Regions from separate parts of the Homo sapiens genome. Here regions 1 and 2 are each linked to region 3. The links are contacts of gene promoters, found by promoter capture Hi-C in blood cells and fetal thymus (Javierre and others, 2016). All regions are on one chromosome and are shown on one strand. The core of a region is centred on a gene start or on the middle of the fragment in contact, and the rest is flanking DNA. Distances in the headings are between cores, read along the strand shown. Region 1 overlaps CDK13 (cyclin dependent kinase 13). Region 2 holds the start of UPP1 (uridine phosphorylase 1). Region 3 holds the start of ANKMY2 (ankyrin repeat and MYND domain containing 2).

Region 1 (3,968 bases), core at 1,349-3,848, about 23 Mb before region 3:
AACCTAAACTTCCATTCCCTTCTGAGAGTTTCTCCATTTGTTCTAGTATCCTATTTTTTGACACTTTTTAAAAGCATTTTAAGAATTCCATTCACCTAGGGATTTTCATGACTTATTTCTATTAAGTATATATTAAATCAGTGGCATATTTTTTGAGTTTTTTTTTCATTACGGAATATCTTCATTTCATATACTTTTGAACTATAGTTTTCAGGACAAAACACTAAATAATCCATTACAGAGGTACCACATATAACAATAATTTTTCTTATTTATATTTAGAGTCCACCCATCTTTTTCAGATTCTTAGGTTCTTATTATTCCATAATGAATGCTTCTGTGCTTCTTGGTGGAATGGAACTTCCATAGGTTTAGAGAAAGAACAAAACACACATAATAATTTCTTGCACGGATTTTAATCTGACATCAGTAACTTCAGATCAAAATAATTCTGGAAAACCACCACCAATAACTAAGAGTAATTAATGTCTTCAAGAAATGTTTTTAGCCAATCTTTGTAAAGACAAAGTAGGAAAAACATCCACAAGATTTAAACCCAATTGTTCATAAAAACTACAAATAAACACAAATAAGCTGAAAGAATCTTTAGAAGATTCATCTTTTAAAATCTTCAAAATGCTGATAAAATGGCCAAGGAACAGAAACCAACACATAAATACCCAAGCAGAAGCTGATTTTTCACCAAAACAGGTCATTATGTGAGGTGGCCAGCGCCCCTGAATGCCAACTAAATTTCAATAAAGCATATGCTTTAAGTGGTAAGTGGCCCATGTTCTTTAATGAATAGACTGCTGTTAGAATTCTTCATATTGTAACCAAAATCCACCTTCATATTGTAACCAAAATCCATGCTCTTTAATATTAAGAGCATGTACTTTCAAATCAGCCTAGGGTTTGAATCCAAGCTGACCTTGGAACAAATCGCTTAAAACCTTTTAGAGCTCCCGTTTCCCAATCCATCAATGGGAATGTTTCCAACTATCACATGGATTTTGGTGGTCAATATATGTTAAATATTTATCAATGCCTGGCACACAGTAAAACACTACAAACGGTACCCTCCCCTCTTTTCAGCACACCCTCACATTTATTATAGGGCCAGTCAGCAAGATTACGTGACCTTCCACACCCCAACAGTCAAGTAGTAAAGAAAATACGGCAAACAGATTATACAGGGGAAAAAGTAAAGCTAAGAGGGAACTGATGAAAAGAAATGCATGAGCCGAGGACTGAAGATTCAAATGAAGACAAAGAACAAGTTGTGAAGTGGAAATCACTAAAATGAAAAGGATTTATTTATCTGACATCAAAAAAAGCTTCAGGCTGGATGTGGTGGCTCACACCTGTAATCCCTGGACTTTGGGAGGCTGATGCAGCAGGTGGATCATTTGAGCCCAGGAGTTTGACACCAGCCTGGGCAACATGGTGAAACCCTATCTCTATTTTCAGCTTATTTAAAATTGTTTTTCATCTTCATACCACGATTTCAATACTATTTTGAATGTGTATGCATTTCCTTGAAAATATCTACGCTGACAATTCATTAATATGTAAGTTCTGCATAGGCTGGGGAAATATTACACTGTTTCTTACAGCATTACACATGGTCTGTATTAAATATTTTGAATGAAGTTTGTAATACAAAGCCCACATTAATATTTTGTATGTTCAGTAAACTCCAGCATCCCTTCATTTACACCTATTCAACATTTATTAAGAGTGTACTTGTGCCAGATACAGTGCTGAGCACTAGAAATACAATGATGGATAAGACAGCCCAGTTGCCTTCATGGAACTCACAGCAGTCCATTCATTAAAGAACATGGGCCACTTACCACAAGTAATAAATTCTGAAAATAAATAAAACTTTTCCATTAATCTGTACAAGTGAGTTCAATTAACCGTTCCTAAAAAGTAACAATACACTTATTATATTTTAAAATCTTTAGATTTTTCCAATCAACTATTTTAGCTATTAATTCTAGGCCCTATGTTTTAAGCTGGACATTTGACAAACTAGATATAATGTGAAAAATCTGAAAACCGTATGAGTTTTTTAGTCTAGAAGACTCAGAAATCATGACAACTGTCTTTATATTTTAAAGGGTTAGCATACACGTGTGCTCTGTACCATTCCAAAGGGTTAAACTTGGAGCAATGGTTCGAAGGTGGATTTTGGTCACAATATGAAGAATTCTAACAATTTGGGATATTGAATAATTCAACGACCTTAAATATTTCTGTAAGGCTGCATGCTTTAAAAAGATAAATTTTCACTTAATCCTTGAAATAATCCAGAAAAACAAGTGTTTCCCTGTTACAGTTTAGGAAACTGAGTCTTCAAGGATCTTGCTAAAACACTCAAGTCCCAAATCTAGTGAACAGGTTGCCTCTAACTAACGTGCTTCCCACCTCTAGATGTATTTCAGGCACATACCAAATGGCCATCTGTCAGCAATGTTAGCCAAGACACCCTAAAGTTCCTTCCAAATTCAACTCTTTAGAAATACTGGTGGTCAATGTAAACACCATGAAAAGATTATGTGTTGAACGGTCCTCCAGAATGCAAGCTCTATGAGGGCAAGTAACTTTTTCTTTCCTGCTACATCCCAATACCTAAAACAGTATATGGCATACAATACAGGGTCAAAAAATACTTGCTAAATATGAATAGTCCTAGTCATACATACCACGATTATATATTTCATATATGTATATAAAAAATACATACCACTATTATACAATAAAGGATCTCGCTGAAGTATCCAGCAACTAAAAAACCTGATAAGTACAAAATCCATTCTTAAAATTGCATCAAGCACTTTAAATTGTTCAAGTGCTGAAACTTCAACCAACCAGTTTGCAAAACAAATTCAACTGCAAAAACTGCAAACCCTTTGGCAAAGTATTATAGTTAAAAGTAACATACAAAGTCTTACAAGATACAATGGCTAATTTTGATGAATGAGTTTTTCAATTCTTCGCTAAGGTATCAACTAACATTTTAAGTATGCTTCAACACTCTTTAAGAGTGAAGCAATTTATAGAACTTTTTTGGCTTAAAGACAAACTCACGCTCAGATCTCTATAAACATCACACCTTTACATTTATTATGGTGATACTTCAAAAAGGTCTGCTAATTTTGCAGATGCATATTCGTATTATGTTGAGATTCCACATAACCCATACTTAGAGGTACTGTACATCCACTTGCCATTACTGAAACCCAGGAGGAAAAACTGATACAAATGTCATTTTGCAATACTCTACACTATAAGGTCTGGAATGTCCAAACATCTCAAGGAATATAAGAACCCATAAAATACTCGAAAGTTGTTTTTAATGCACTTTGCTTAGTGGATAAGTATATTTTAAGGCACACTTTTTAAAAAGAATATTATATAACAAAAAAGGCAAGAAAGCTACAGAAAAGTTTTACTCCAATTTCATTAAATTAAATTACACCTTTTAAAGATTTCTGGACAAAGATCCTGATATTTAAAGGTCTAGTTATATTGTGTTTTTATCCTTCGGGTATATATCTAAGAAAAAGTCTACTTAGCTTTTAAAGTAAGCAGTTACAGGCTTATAATAGTATAAGAATGTACTCAGCCATTCACTTGGTTACACTAGGTTACACCACCCAGATTTATAATGTTATTAGCAACTGGGTGTCATCACAAACCAACAAAGAAACCACAGTCTTGTCATTTTTTCTACCTTCTATAATTATGACTTTGAAAGATCAGGTAAAAACTATCCCACACAAGAATATCACTAAATAGATACCTTTTTTAACTTCAGTATTCAGAACTATCGGCTTCCACCTAAGCTTTTTTAACATACTAAAAGAATAAACTTTACAGAAAGGCTGCTTCTCCCATTTCTGTAATAATCATAAGAAACATCTGCAATCCACATCTAACTCTGACATCAGTACCTGATT
Region 2 (4,026 bases), core at 1,275-3,774, about 31 Mb before region 3:
CTCTCTTTCCCTTTGCAATCTTAGTACCTGCAGGATCCCCCCTCCTGGGTGTGAGTGTCCCAAGAACTAACTTCTCTCCACTTTTCAGCCCTGCACTCAGGGAGGGTCTATTTAACCACACCCACGTAGGCAGAGAAAGTTGCAGATGTCTGCAGTGCTCCAGTGGAAAAGACCCTGGTGTTGAAGATGTCAGACTGCACTGATTTTAGAAAACCTTTCTCCTAACATTGTACCACAATGTTCTCCAACTTCCGTAAGGAAATGAAATTCAGTTTCTCAACAAGTCTTCTCTCACCTCTCTAGAAAGCCATGCTCTTCGCTCCCCTCCCCACATAACAGGAGAGTTTTGCTGGTTTTACCTGGGCTGCAAATTCTACCTCCCAGGGAAATCCTAAACCTGGCTTAGGATTTGGCTCCCCAAGGAAGAGTCTTTTCGGTGATCACCTGGGGCTCTCTACCTATTACCAGCCAGATCCATCTTACTTAAAAAAAAAAAAAAACTGAAGATGTTTTTGATTTTTTTTTTTAGTTTTAACCCGTTAAACTCAAATCAGATTGGTAAGTTACTTGCATAAATAACTTAGCTTGTAAACATTTAAAATACTTTTTTGAATGAACATATTTCAAAAGCAAATGTGTGTGAGAGAGAGAGGAGAAGGAAGAAGAATGTTTGTTGTTTATCTTTAGGGAAGAGGAAAACCTAGAAGTTTCATTTTCTGTTATATATTTGATTTTTGGTTTTTGGGTTTTTTTGTTTGTTTGTTTTTACAATAAGTTTGCGTTAATTTTAAGATCAGTAAAGTCAACAAAATTCCACTTTGACAAAAAGCCCATGTAAAGAAACACTAATTTATCCTTCTTAAATGAAACATGAATGCCCACCAGTGCTGAAAGTATTGGAACCAAGAATATAATTTGTGCTCGATACACCTGTGCTGAATTAAAACGGTCTGCGGTGATGAGGTTTAATGCAGAGGACTAGAAGGTCAGGGTAGCCTCTGAAAAAAGAAATAATGTAAGAGCAGCTGAGAAATGGGGAAAGCTTGGGCCAAAATGCAGATGGGCAAACAAACTGAAAGGCGGGAGAGACAAAGGCCTGCCCTGGGAATGGCTCAGCAGCGCTTGTAGAAATCCAGAGTAAGACATTCTTTCTATTCAAGGAAGTCACAAAGTTTTTTAAAGACCCGCGGTTACAGCCAATGAATGGAACCAATGGTCTTTTTAACCAGAAGACCCCAGGAAGGCAGAAAATGAGCCAAAGAAAGGCCAGGCAGGGGACAGTGGGGAAAGGAAACAGGGATGGAGAAGCAGAGAGGGAAGTGCAGAGACAGGTCACCCAGGCGCCTGGAAACTGCCTCTATGGCCTTCACGGGAAACGGCCTCTTTCTACTCCGGATCCCAGACTGTGTTTCTTTGAAACTGACCGTCAGAGGAGAGCGGCTGGAGGCGGACAGACGTCTGCAGTGGGAGGCGCTCCAGGCGTTCCAGGCAGTGTCCTGCCGGCGAGTCACCCGCGACCGCGAGTCACCTCACCAAGCCCTGAATTGGGACAGGAGACGAGACGTGTCGACGAGCTGCGGAGTTCCTCGCTTCTCTGGGCCCTGCCAGGTCCAAGAACAGGTTGCCATATAAAAGAATCGTGAAGGGACCCCCTTCCCCATGCAAATTATGTCATATAACGCATATGCCTGTGAAGTTTCTCTGCGGAGCTGCCAGATAACTCGATGACAATATTTTATGCGGTAACATTTTGTTAAATGTTGACTCGATGGCCACTTGACGCCATCTGAACTCTGAAAGCTCGCGTAACAATCATCCTCCAAATGAAATTTTACCCCCTTCTCCCTTTAAAAGGCGGTGGGGACAAAACATCACTTCGTCACTTAAGTCACCATCTCCTTCCTCTTATCTGGGGCTCCCAGCATAGTTCTAGGGGTTCCCGCACTCCCCGCCCGGGTTTGGGCTGCGAGAAGCGCCCGCCTGCGCCCTGCGGGACCTGACCCTGCCGGCTCTGGCTTCACCCTCGCTGCGCCTCGGCCCGGTGGGCTCCCCGCCCAGAGCCCCGCGCGCTCCGTCGCCGGGACGTGGGAGAGGTAGGCACGGGGTGGACCCGAGGAAGCACATCCCGCCCGCGCGCTTCCCCCACGCCCACCTCGCTCCGCACACACCAGCCCCAGAACCTCCCGGCCGCGCGCCCGCCTCCCCGCGCAGCCGCGCCGGGCCGCTCTCTGCTCCTCTGCAGCTCACAGCCAAGGTGCACCAGAGCCTCCGTCACCGCCCCTACAGGTAAATGGGCACGTGGCCAAGGCAGGGGACGGGCTAGACCCCTGGGAAGAGAGAACGGCGGGAGCCGGGCCGCGGGCGACTCACCACTCGGCCTGCGCAGAGAGCCGCTACACCCGCGGCGCCATCCTCGCACTGCGACACCGGCGACAAACGCAATGCTCCAGGGCCGGACGAAGGGACGGCTCTCGGGAGGCTCGCAGACGGCGGGGCGCGGGTCTGTGCGCCGGAGCACTCGAATGAGGGAACCACCTGCGAGGTGAATCTCATATGGAGTCTGCGAGCGGCCCCGCCCTGCCCGGGGGTTACCGCTAGGCTCGGGCCCCGCCTGCCCTGGGCCGGCGAACTCAGCTGACCGCATCCTGGGCCATCCCGCAGACAAGCCCCGCCCGCCCCCACCTTCCTCTGCCCCTCTGGCCCCGCCTCCCCCGCCTTCCTCCTCTCCACCCTCCCGCGAAGGTCCCGGGAGGCTCAGCCCGCAATTGCTTCTCGCCTCTGCAGAGCAGCTGGGCAATTGTAAAGAACCAGCAGCCAGTTCTGTTACTCATTAAACAGCCCCTACTACAGAGGAAATCTTCTTACCCACGTGGTCCTAACCTGGGGCGGAGGAAACCGGGCTAGAAGCGGCTCTAGGACTAACCCAAGGTCACGCCGCCAGGCAGGATCCCCGGTCTGTCTGTCTGGCGGTGGCCCCGCGGCTGGGGCCAGCGGAGAGAAATGACAGCGTGGAACCAGCCCTGGCCCGGTGGTCGGGAATGTGGAGCTGGCACTGTCACTGTGTGTACCCTGGATCTCTCTGGACGGCCTCGGCTTCCCCCCTGGGGAGTTTCTCTGGGACCTTCCTGATCCTGGGAGTTCCCGCTTGCTGGGGCAAAGCCAGGAGCTCGCCCGAGGAGGGGAAGTGACTCATTCACTTCGAGTCGCAGCTAAGTGGCCGAACTGCCTCAAACCGGCGCTGCACTCTGACCCCCAGGGGCCGGACCTGCCTGCCCCCGGCCGGTGCCCACTCTCCGTCTCAGGCGTCTTTCCTGGTCCTCTCCCTGCTTCCCGAACGCGCACTCTGGTGAGAGCACAGAGCCTGGGAAAGAAGACGACCTAGAGGCCCGGGCAGCCCAGCACCTCTGTTACTTGCTTCCTAAAGGGAACTCCAGTTCCTGAGAAAACATGGGGTTGGGCCGGGAGTGGTGGCTCACGCCTGTAATCCCAGCACTTTGGAAGGCCGAGGCGGATGGATCACCTGAGGTCAGGAGTTCGAGACCAGCCTGCCCAACATGGTGAAACCCCGTCACTACTAAAAATACAAAAAATTAGCTGGACGTGGTGTCGCGTGCCTGTAATCCCAGGTACTAGGCAGGCCGAGGCAGGAGAATTGCTTGAACCCAGCGAAGGATGCAGTGAGCCGAGATCGCGCCATTGCACTCCATACTGGGTGACAAGAGTGAAACACACAAACAAATCAAGGAAGGAATTAAGGGTTTTATTGAAAATGAAAGTACGGCCAGGCGCAGTGGCTCACACCTGTAATCCCAGCACTTTGGGAGGCCGAGGCGGGTGGATTACAAAGTCAGGAGTTCAAGACCAGCCTAACCAAGATGGTGAAACCCCGTCTCTACTAAAAGTAAAAAAAAAAAAAAAACAAAAAAAAAAACCTAGCCGGTCACAGTGGCAGGTGCCTGTAATTCCAGCTACTTGGGAGGCTGAGGCAGGAGAACCACTTGAACCTGGGTGGCAGAGGTTGCAGTG
Region 3 (3,905 bases), core at 1,136-3,635:
ATCCATCTAATGAACAGTACCCATTATGAATCTGTTTCTAGAAATGTAAACTGAACATGATTTATTTGCATTTCTAGGTAGATGTTAGATTCTCTTTCAACGTTATTGTCTCTAAATTCACTGGTCATGTATTCAGAGAGCACTAAATACCAACCAAGTGTCATAAGGCATCAAGAAAATAGATAGTAAGCTGCTATCCTCGAGGAACTGACAACCCCAGTGAGACAAACAGGTGTGACCTTCAAGTAACCATGGCCCAGATTTGGCACAAGAGATGGAAATACTAGCAATGAAGTACCCAATTATGTGTATGCATCTGCTGGTAAGATGCTAAATCACATGTTCCAGGAGGTTACCACTCAACTGTTTTTTTAGGTTTGTGGGTTTCTTCCGCATGATACTATGTTATAAATCAATTGTAACTCTGAACTAACAGCATTACAAAAGATTGGTCACTCTCAGGAGCCTTACTACTTGCTTGAACAGCCACATCATTATTAAAGCATCATCCAACAAAAGTATCTTTGTTATACACTGAGATGAATAATTTCAAACCATTTTCATGTAAGATGTTCTGGCTCAGATCTGTCCCAGTCTTTAATGCTGAAGCTTTAGGGGGGAAAAACAGCTGGAGTTTAGGAAAGATTTTTGCTAAAGGCAGGAAATAATGATAAACATATTCCAGGAGATTTCAGATGTTAGTGAAAGCTTCACGCAAAATAAATGCCTAAGGCCAGAGGAAAATGCATTTCGCTTTTCGTATGGCGCTATGAGAAGAAACAGTGGTCCTGGGGATGCTTAACAAAAACCACCTACATAATTACTCAAATATTTCTCTTTGACACATACACGTCTCTTTGACACACATATTGAGAGAAACATCAATACTACTCTGTAGGGAAACAACAGTAAAACATAAACACTAATTTCCAAAGAAACTTTCATTGATGATGTAAATATAAATCTGCACCCTGGAGAAATGACTGATTCCCGCATTTTAGCAAGCAAATCTTATTCTGAAATACACACTTGTATTTACCCCCATCTACCTATGGTCGAAGCTCCAGGCTACATATTACAGTTGAATGAAGGTTGGATTAAGAGGCTAATCTAAGGCTATATATAGGCAGCAACACCAATTTAATCTCCGCCCTCTCCAACCTCCCCACCCTCCACTCCCTATTTCCATAAATCTCAAGATCTGAGTTACAAAGAGAACCGAGAACTCTAGCAGAGCAAAGAAGCCCTTCCTTCCCCCTCCCACAGGCTGTCTCTCATAAACGAAGTATTAGTGCAAGTGTAAATTGTTTCCAAACATCTTTAACAAGCAACATTGGGCGATCAGGTTTTCTTCTACAGCTTCCACAGAGGCCAAAGAGATGACAAGTAGTGGGGAGGGCGAGGATCACCAGCGTAAAAACTACCTTCTCCCGAGTCTGTTCTCACTGACTCGCTAGTAATGGGGCGCTGTCCTTGCGACCCCTACCTAGCCCAGAGCCCCGGCCCCAGCCTCCCCGGGAGCCGCATCTGGCGGTGCCACGCACGAGACCATGTGCACCCGCCACTTCCCACCGCGTGGCTGGCCCCCGCCCGCCCGCCCGCGGTCCCAGGGTCTCCCGAGGCGGCCAAACGTTGCGAGTCGGAGGTCTTCATCCCAGGGCACTGATACCCCGTACGCGCCGTGATGATGAGGTGGAGCGGGGGCTTCTCCACCGCGAGGCAGGAAGCCGCCCCAGGAGGCACATGCTTCCTCCCCGCCAGCTCCTGCCCGATGGAAACCCCGGCGGGGCGGCAGTCGCTACTCTCGCAACCCTCACGGCGCCCCTTGCCTCACCTGGGCTGCTTCTCACCTGTCCGAGGAGGTAGCGACGACGCGCAAGGCTGGGGGCTGCGGCGATTCGTGCAGCAGCAGCGGCAGCAGCAGCAGCAGCAGCAGTGGCGGCAGACAATGGAGGAGTGAAGGACAGACACATTGACATAGACACACGGAACCCGGCGCAGCCCCGCCTCCCGTACCGCCCCCGTCTCCTAGACCGCCCCCGCCCAGACTGCGCCACTCCCGGGGGAATGGTGGGGGTACGGCGACAACCTGGGGCCTCTGCATGCCCCAGAAAGCCGTCGCTGAGCACATAACTGCCAGCTGTAGAATTTTCAATATTACATGTGGCGAAATATTTGAACCGGACAGGATAGGGGAGCGGAACGTGTAGGAGGAATTTAATTCCCCCCTCCAGCTTTCTGCATTTGGTTTTGTCCTCCCAGGTTGCTCCAATGGCGATCTCTCGCTACCGCCTCCTGCGGCTCCTCCTCCTCGGCAGGGCCAATGACAGGCGGCAGGCGGTGACCGCCGCAGGGCCTGCGGAGACCGTCCGCCTGGCTCGCCCGAGCTCGCCCGCTGTCCGCCAGCCCGCGGGAGGGAGGAGAGAAGCGAAGCGTTTCCGCGGTTGGCTACTCAGTGTCTTGGTCTCAAGTTGCCTCATTGCGGCTGGCGTTCCCAATACAGACGCATCGTTTCTTTTTTAATACTCCCTAAGAAAGGGAATAACCTTCAAGCTGGCGGGAGCAATGGTTCACATAAAGAAAGGCGAGCTGACCCAGGAGGAGAAGGAGCTACTGGAAGTCATCGGGAAAGGTACGGGTGCTGGGCTGCGACGCGGCCGCGGCCAGCCTGGCCGGGGGGCGTGGCGGAGCCCGGGGGGCGCTCCTGGCCTGGGTGACCTTTGGCTGCGGTTCTGCAAGGTTTGCAGCCTGGAACCGGGAAAGAGCGTTTCTCCCTTTGGTCTGGGAAAGGTTGCAGGGGCGGAGAGGTGGGGAGGCAGAAGCAGTGCTGGGACAAGAGGGGTAGTTACAGAGGCTCGGCCTCTAAATCCGCTTTTGGAAACGTACGGATTTCCACGCCCCGCCTTAGGTTAATGCGAGCTTCCCGGGGTGTGGACCCCAGTGTGTGAATTCTTCACTGCTCCCGAGGGATTTTGACCGCGGTCAGTCCTGGTAGTTTCAGGTTCTTAGGCGGGTGTCTAAATGACCCTTTAGACTTCCGCAGGCCGAATGATCTGGATCCTTTGCCGATCCCCGCCCCCGCTTGGGAGTGGAGGGCGCCCTTAGGGAGAGGGGTTCTTCATAAGGGTACAGAACTAGGTCTGTAATTTGCTGCATTGAGACTTCCGTATCCAGGGCCTCCCTGGCTTCCAGAAGCCCCGACAGCCTCAGGAACCCTAGAGAGACAAGGAAATTGGCGAGGCCTCCACACCCACCCCTCGGCCCACGTTGCACAGATGAGACCTTCTAATCGCGCTCCTTCGCGCTTTCTTGTCCACTCCCCCAAGGCGTGCCCCACTTCCGCAGTGCTGAGTCCCAGCGGGGAGCCCCGAGGACGAGCCAGAAGCCATATTTCCCCGGAGTCCCCGAGTGGACGTCCCAGAGGAGTTCCCTGCCGAGTCCCGTTACCTGGCAGGTGACATCAGCGTGACTGCATGCTTCTTCTGCACCCTCACGGTGCAGGGATGGTGATGCGTGCGACTCCGGGCAATTAATGTGGTGATTTTAAACTCAATAATAATATAGCCATGTTTGTCCTCGAATGGCAGAGATGCCAGTCATTGCAGCATAAGGCTTCCCAGTTTCCAGTTTTATTTACTTAGTAGCCAGGCTGAAATGTGGAATCCTAGAGAATAAGGCAGATTTATTCTTCATAGCGACAAGGAAACTCCACATGCGAAGGAGAAAAAATTCCGGTTTGAACTCAACAGGTGCTGATGAGCTGAGCCCACCCGATCTGATCTCAACTATTCTAAGTCAGTCACAGCTATATCTATCAATGATGTGTTCTTTGCCTGGAATTTGGGGATTTGGGTTAGAGTTTAGATTGTTGTACTGCATGGTTCTTGCTGACCTATTTGGCATTT

The links. The method cuts DNA at HindIII sites, captures the fragments that hold promoters and counts their contacts. A CHiCAGO score of 5 or more calls a contact.
Region 1: a fragment that was not itself captured here is called in contact with the fragment with the promoter of ANKMY2 in region 3 in 1 of 17 cell types (non-activated CD4 T cells); the score reaches 9.0 in non-activated CD4 T cells.
Region 2: the fragment with the promoter of UPP1 here is called in contact with the fragment with the promoter of ANKMY2 in region 3 in 1 of 17 cell types (non-activated CD4 T cells); the score reaches 8.8 in non-activated CD4 T cells.

The regions. Positions count from the first base shown.
Region 1 is chr7:39,952,296-39,956,263 of GRCh38, reverse strand. All of the region lies in intron 1 of CDK13 (cyclin dependent kinase 13), which reads right to left. Among named protein-coding and RNA genes, the nearest start is that of CDK13, 4.0 kb to the right of the region's middle. RefSeq lists an enhancer at 3,882-3,968. The HindIII fragment of the contact is 2,517 bases long and covers 1,340-3,856 here.
Region 2 is chr7:48,087,763-48,091,788 of GRCh38, reverse strand. It overlaps UPP1 (uridine phosphorylase 1), which reads right to left and starts at 2,524. Exons shown (of 9, transcript NM_003364.4): 1 at 2,371-2,524; 2 at 1,425-1,601. RefSeq lists silencers at 1,960-2,149, 2,490-2,829 and enhancers at 1,930-2,459, 2,970-3,179, 2,992-3,521. The HindIII fragment of the contact is 3,480 bases long and covers 1,045-4,026 here.
Region 3 is chr7:16,644,234-16,648,138 of GRCh38, reverse strand. It overlaps ANKMY2 (ankyrin repeat and MYND domain containing 2), which reads left to right and starts at 2,385. Exons shown (of 10, transcript NM_020319.3): 1 at 2,385-2,632. The coding sequence starts at 2,566. It overlaps BZW2 (basic leucine zipper and W2 domains 2), which reads right to left and starts at 1,958. Exons shown (of 12, transcript NM_014038.3): 1 at 1,851-1,958. RefSeq lists an enhancer at 1,979-2,258. The HindIII fragment of the contact is 5,140 bases long and covers 711-3,905 here.